Linked DNA regions of Homo sapiens: region 1 is linked to region 2. Evidence: promoter capture Hi-C in human tissues and cell types (Jung and others, 2019). All regions are on one chromosome and are shown on one strand. The core of a region is centred on a gene start or on the middle of the fragment in contact, and the rest is flanking DNA. Distances in the headings are between cores, read along the strand shown. Region 1 overlaps YLPM1 (YLP motif containing 1). Region 2 holds the start of SYNDIG1L (synapse differentiation inducing 1 like).

What was found. The method cuts DNA at HindIII sites, captures the fragments that hold promoters and counts their contacts. A contact is called where the count stands out against the background at its distance.
Region 1: a contact is called between a fragment that was not itself captured here and the fragment with the promoter of SYNDIG1L in region 2, in 1 of the 25 tissues and cell types used here (mesenchymal stem cells).

The regions. Positions count from the first base shown.
Region 1 is chr14:74,796,023-74,799,127 of GRCh38, forward strand. YLPM1 (YLP motif containing 1) reads left to right here. Exons shown (of 21, transcript NM_019589.3): 5 at 1,558-3,105. Among named protein-coding and RNA genes, the nearest start is that of YLPM1, 34 kb to the left of the region's middle. The HindIII fragment of the contact is 5,826 bases long and covers 1-3,105 here.
Region 2 is chr14:74,424,719-74,427,929 of GRCh38, forward strand. SYNDIG1L (synapse differentiation inducing 1 like) reads right to left here and starts at 1,492. Exons shown (of 4, transcript NM_001105579.2): 1 at 1,194-1,492. The HindIII fragment of the contact is 14,133 bases long and covers 1-3,211 here.

The DNA.
Region 1 (3,105 bases), core at 204-2,703, 370 kb after region 2:
CTCTCAGCTCCTTGGCCAGAACTTGGCTGCCAGTTCTAGCTGCAAGAGATATTGAGAAAGAGAGTCTTGTCTGGGGGGCCTTGTGTCTAGCTACAGGAGGCCTGTTATTGTAGATAAGTGGGGAATGGGTATTGGAAGACCACCAGTAGTCTCTGCCACATGAGGCATACACAATCTTCTGGAGAGTGATCCTCGCTTACTTCTTTACCTTATTTTTTAGTGTGCTGCTTTTCCACATTTCCCTCTTTATCAGCTCTCTTGACTCTGTTTCCCCTTTGCATTAGCCATGCTAAACTATTTGCACTTCCAAACATGCTCTGCTGATACACGTTTCTCCGCCTTTCCTCTTGCTTCCTTAGCTTGAGGTGCCCTTGCCACATACTTTCCTCATCTCCAACTCATTCTGTCAGCTTGATTTCAGAGAAGTTGTCTTTTAAAACTCAACATAAGCCTCTCCAATTCTGTTTTCCTTATTGTGTACACATAGACTTGAGACATTACATCTCTTGGTACTTATTTACACTTAGATTATCTTTATATTTTGTTGTAAACTCTTTGAGGGCACATATGACATTTTATTCTTGTATCTCTTGGATGTAATGTAATGCCTGACAGATAAAGGATGTGTACTTTCTTTTTACTGGATGAGCAAGTGGGTTTATAGCAAAAATAACTGTGCAGACTTTTTAAAATGTCAGAACCTACTCTTAAGATAGGGCTACTGTTTCTTTTTTTTTTTTTTTTAACTTTTGTCAATCAAAATGTTAGTGCTAGCTCTAACAATATTTATAATCATCCTATATTTTCTTGTTAGTCTTTTCATATTTAGTTTTTAGTTACAATTTAATTCCAGAAGTGCTCAGAGTTAGTTATGGAATTTGTTAATTTTTTTCTCTTTAAAATGAGCAGCCTTTTCTGTCTCCTAAGGCACAGTATTTATAATTGCTTTTTTTTTTTTTTTTTTTTGAGACGGAGTCTCACTCTTGTCACCCAGTCTAGAGTGCAATAGCGTGATCTCAGCTCACTGCAACCTCTGCCTCCCAGGTTCAAGTGATTCTCCTGCCTCAGCCTCCCAAGCAGCTGGGATTTGCAGGCACCTGCCACCACACCTGGCTAAATTTTTGTATTTTTTTTTTTTTTTTTTTTTTAGTAGAGATAGGGTTTCACCATGTTGGCCAGGCTGGTCTTGAACTCTTGATCTCAGGTGATCTGCCCATCTCTGCCTCCCAAAGTGCTGTGATTACAAGTGTGAGCCACTGCGCCAGGCCTGTAATTGCTTTTTAACCGTTCAGTATATCAGTGACTTGCGGCAGGAGATGTGTTGAAGTAAGTTAGATAATACTGACATGATTTCCAAAGCCTGTCCTAAGACCTTCTGAGCACTGCCACCTTAACATACTGGTTCTAAGATATTGGTGACTCAGGATTAATTTAATGACTGAAAAGAGTCATTGTTGTAAACAAATTCTAAGGCAAGAGTGCCTTAAATATTCTTACATGGAGAATTTTTTTTTTCTGCTTTACTGTCTTGAGTAATATCTTTTGTTTTACTTGTAGATTTGATGGTCCTCGAAGATTTGAGGATTTAGGGTCAAGGTGTGAAGGACCGAGACCCAAAGGGCCTCGTTTTGAAGGAAATCGCCCCGATGGGCCAAGACCCAGATATGAAGGTCACCCAGCAGAGGGCACTAAAAGCAAGTGGGGAATGATTCCCCGGGGGCCAGCATCTCAATTTTATATTACCCCCAGTACATCCCTAAGTCCTCGACAGAGTGGACCACAGTGGAAAGGCCCCAAACCAGCTTTTGGACAGCAGCATCAGCAGCAACCTAAGTCACAAGCAGAACCTCTTTCAGGAAACAAAGAACCATTAGCAGACACCAGTAGTAACCAGCAGAAGAATTTTAAAATGCAATCAGCTGCATTTTCCATTGCTGCAGATGTAAAGGATGTCAAGGCGGCTCAGTCAAATGAGAATCTAAGCGACTCTCAACAAGAGCCACCTAAAAGTGAAGTCTCGGAAGGGCCCGTAGAGCCCTCTAATTGGGACCAGAATGTTCAAAGTATGGAGACTCAAATCGACAAAGCCCAAGCTGTTACTCAGCCTGTACCCCTTGCGAATAAGCCTGTACCTGCTCAATCTACTTTTCCTTCAAAAACAGGGGGGATGGAGGGAGGAACAGCAGTAGCAACATCATCATTAACAGCAGATAATGATTTTAAACCTGTGGGTATTGGTCTACCCCATTCAGAAAACAACCAAGATAAAGGCCTGCCTCGGCCAGATAATAGAGATAATAGATTAGAAGGCAATAGAGGCAACAGCTCATCTTACAGAGGTCCTGGGCAAAGCAGAATGGAAGACACACGGGATAAAGGTCTAGTAAACAGAGGTCGCGGCCAGGCAATCAGTCGAGGCCCAGGATTGGTCAAGCAAGAAGACTTTCGGGATAAGATGATGGGTAGAAGAGAAGATAGTCGAGAGAAGATGAACAGAGGAGAAGGTAGCCGGGACAGAGGGTTGGTGAGGCCTGGAAGCAGTCGGGAGAAAGTGCCAGGTGGTCTTCAAGGGAGCCAGGACAGGGGTGCAGCTGGCAGCCGAGAAAGGGGACCACCTCGGAGGGCTGGCAGTCAGGAGAGGGGACCTCTTCGAAGGGCTGGGAGTAGAGAGAGAATACCACCCCGAAGAGCTGGGAGCAGGGAGAGAGGACCACCTCGAGGGCCTGGCAGTCGAGAAAGGGGACTGGGAAGATCAGATTTTGGTCGTGATAGAGGTCCATTCAGACCAGAACCAGGAGATGGTGGGGAAAAAATGTATCCATATCACCGGGATGAGCCTCCTAGGGCTCCATGGAACCATGGAGAAGAGCGAGGGCATGAAGAGTTTCCATTAGATGGTAGAAATGCTCCAATGGAACGAGAAAGACTCGATGACTGGGATAGAGAGAGATACTGGAGAGAATGTGAACGTGACTATCAAGATGATACACTAGAGCTCTATAACAGAGAGGACAGGTTCTCAGCACCACCATCTCGGTCTCATGATGGAGATAGGCGAGGCCCTTGGTGGGATGATTGGGAGAGAGACCAGGATATGGATGAGGA
Region 2 (3,211 bases), core at 242-2,741:
TAATCAGGTCACTGACAGCAGGCCTGGCTAGGGGTTGGGAACAGTGACAGCAGCGCACACTGGTATGGAGATGTACAGGTGGCAAGCCTCCAATCAGGTGCATTGTTTTTCATTGGGCCCCAAGGCAGTTCCCTGAGGTGAGCAGAGCGGTGACCTTATCCCCACTCCAGGGGTGAGGAGGATGAGGTTGAAAGAGCTTAGGGAACTAGCTAAAGCCAGTAAATGCCAGCACCCAGCCAGGAACTCCTACTCTAGTGCTCTTTCTACCCCTGGGGGTAGGGAAGTTGTGTTGGGTTGGAGGGTGGGGATAAAGCAGTAGAAAGAAGTGGTCAGCCACAAGGGTAGGCCAATTCTTCCTCCACGCAGTTTTATTTTGATCGCTACATTCTGCCAGTCATAGAGAACTCTGCTCTGAAGAACTAGAAGCACTTTGCAGGCCTGAATGAGCTCATTCAGCGCACTCTTGCCAGAAAGAGAGAGAACTCCTAATGGAGGCTCTGTCTAGGGTCACCAGCACATAATAGAAAACAGGACCCAGGTTCCCTGACTCTTTGCCCTCATGCGCCAAGAGATGTGATGCAAATCCTGCCTGCTTCTGTGAGCGTCAAGAGTGTCATAGGAAAAAAAATTGAGGTATCTTCCAGGACCTCCTTCCTTCCCTGAAGAAATGGGTTAATCCATCCTAAGGGGCCTTGGCCCAAGAGCCAATCCCTTGGCCCAAGAGCCATTTCCAGGGCAGAGAAATCTCAGAGCAGGGGGTACCACAGCCACCTCAGTCACCTGGGTGAACAGGTTTGGGTGCGAGAAGAGGGGAGCTTAGTGAAGCCTGCTCAGATTTTGCTAGTGTCGCAAAACCTTGGTGGGGACTGGGGTACCAGGGAGTCTGAGGCTCTAATCAGTATTTCTTGCCGTCAGTAGGCAGGATGTCTAGGAGCTGCCTGAGGTCAGGGTCAAGGCCTGATGTTGTGAGGTTATGGTGTCTTGACCCCAGTTCATCAGCCCCCTCCCAGCACCCCCAGCCTGCAGGATGAGGGGTAGGGAGGGACGAAGTGCAAGCCTTGGCGGAGCGCAAGGTGCGGCCAAGCAGGGAGTCAGAGCCCCTAGCCCCGAGAGGGCTCCCGTGCCCTCCCCAGCTCACTCCCCGCTCCGTGCCTAGCTCTGCGCTCCCGCGGCGCCCCCAGACCGCCCCTTACCTGTCCCGCCGCGGACGGTCCCGCCTCCTCCGCGGGGCTCGGGGGCTCGGCATGGGCCGGTGAGCGACGGCGCCCCCGCCTCGCGGTCGCGGTGGAACTCCCAGGAGGGCTCCCCTGCTCTCGTCCCCGCGTCCCTGAGCAGCCGCCGCTTCAGCACCGCGGACAGCTCCCGCCCGCAGCCCGCCGCCGCCGCCCGCCCCGCCCCGCGCGGTCCCGGGAGCCCCGCATCCTGGCCGGGCCCCGCCGCCGCCGCCGCCGCGCAGCCCTCGGCCCGGCCCGAGGCGGCTCCGCGCCGACTTGGGAGAGCAGCGAGGAGGGTCCCCCTCCTTCCCGCCTCCCGCCGCCGCCGCCTCCCTCTCGCTTCCGTGCTCCGTGCTCCCTTCCACGCTCCGGAATCAGCCCACCAGGCACTCCGGACCCGGCTCCGGGGCGGGGCGGGGCGGGAAGTCGGGGGAGCCCGGAGGAGGCGGCGAAGCGAGGGGCGCGCAGCTGGAACCCGCGTACCCGCTTCCTGGAGCCGAGCCCTCTTTCCCAGCCCTTCTCTCCCCTCCTCCCGCGCACCCCAGAGCGATGGGAGGCCCTTGGGCTTCTTGAAGCATTTTGGAGCTCCTAGGCTCCAAAGCCAGCCCTGAGTTTTTAACATTGATCTGCCCTAAAAAGAAAAACAAACAGAAAGCATTTATTGAGCACCTACTATATACCAGATACCAAGCCCGATAATGTGTTTAATCAACATAAGCTCATTTAATTTTCTTAACAACTCTATTAGGCAATATAGTGCCCCTCTTCCCCTCTTCCCCTCCCCCTGCCCCCCTCCCCCTGTCCCCCTTCCCCCTCCAATTTTGCAGACCAGGACGCTGGGCTCACAAGGATGAAATCCTGTGATTTGGAGATTCAGTGCTGTGCTGGGAAGGGCACAGGTTTTAAAGCTCATGGACCTAAGTTTTGGTCCTAGGGTCCCACTTGCTGTATAACCTCGAGCAAGTTACCTAACCTCTTAAAGCCTCAGGTTCCTCATGGACAAAGTGAGGGGTCATATGAGGACAAAATGAGATGACATACGTGACACATTGGCACTCAATAGGCACTCAGTGAGTGAGCGTCCCCCTGAGTTTTCCCAGCAAGAGCCCTGAGATCCGAATGCAGGCCTTTTGGCTGCTTTGTCTCCACCCTGTGCTGCTCTTTATCCACCTCCACCTGCGTTTCCTTTTTTTTTTTTTTTTTTGCATGGGGATGCCCTATCTTGAGTGTTACCAGTGGATGAACCTATTCTTCGAGCGCCTTCACAAGGTCTTGAGTCTCACCAAAGTCCCAGGAGGTCAGGAGGAGAGAGTATTCTCATTTTCTGAAGGTAAGTGTGGGTTTGCAAAGTAAACCACAGAGCAGGCTGCAGCTGGGGCTGGAAGACACAAGGAACCAGGGTCTGGCAGTGGGATTCCACTAGCATCCACTAGTCTCCTAGCATCCAGCTGAGGATGCTATAGCACATAGCATGGTGGACTCCAGGACTCCTTCACTCCCACAGGATGTGGGCATCTGGCACAGTTCGGTGTAGCTCCTAGAGTGCACAGTAGGAGCCAGGAGCAAGTCCACATCATGGGGCTTGGGTCTCCTTCCCTTCAAGGCAGGACAGAGAACTCCCTTATCCTGGGGTCTGTCTCAGGGCTGGTATTGGTGTTTAACTTGTTGGGTGCTAAATATATTATTGCTCTTCCTGTCTCTGCCCCATTAGTGGATAATGCAGTGAGAAGCCCCCTGAGGCCAGCAAGGGTCTTGGACCACTCATCTCAGGCCCATACTTCATCTTCACAGACACCCTCCTCCTCAAAACACAGACATACAGACACACACACAACACAGACACACATAGACACACACAGACACACACACAAGACATTGTCTCTGATGTCAGGCCACCCTCCTGTACCTTTGCTTTCTCTGGCCTTCCTCTCACAGGGGCTCATGGCCACCTACTTGGCCTTGGCCTCCCTCTGCTGCTCCCCTCCCCACCCTGGCTG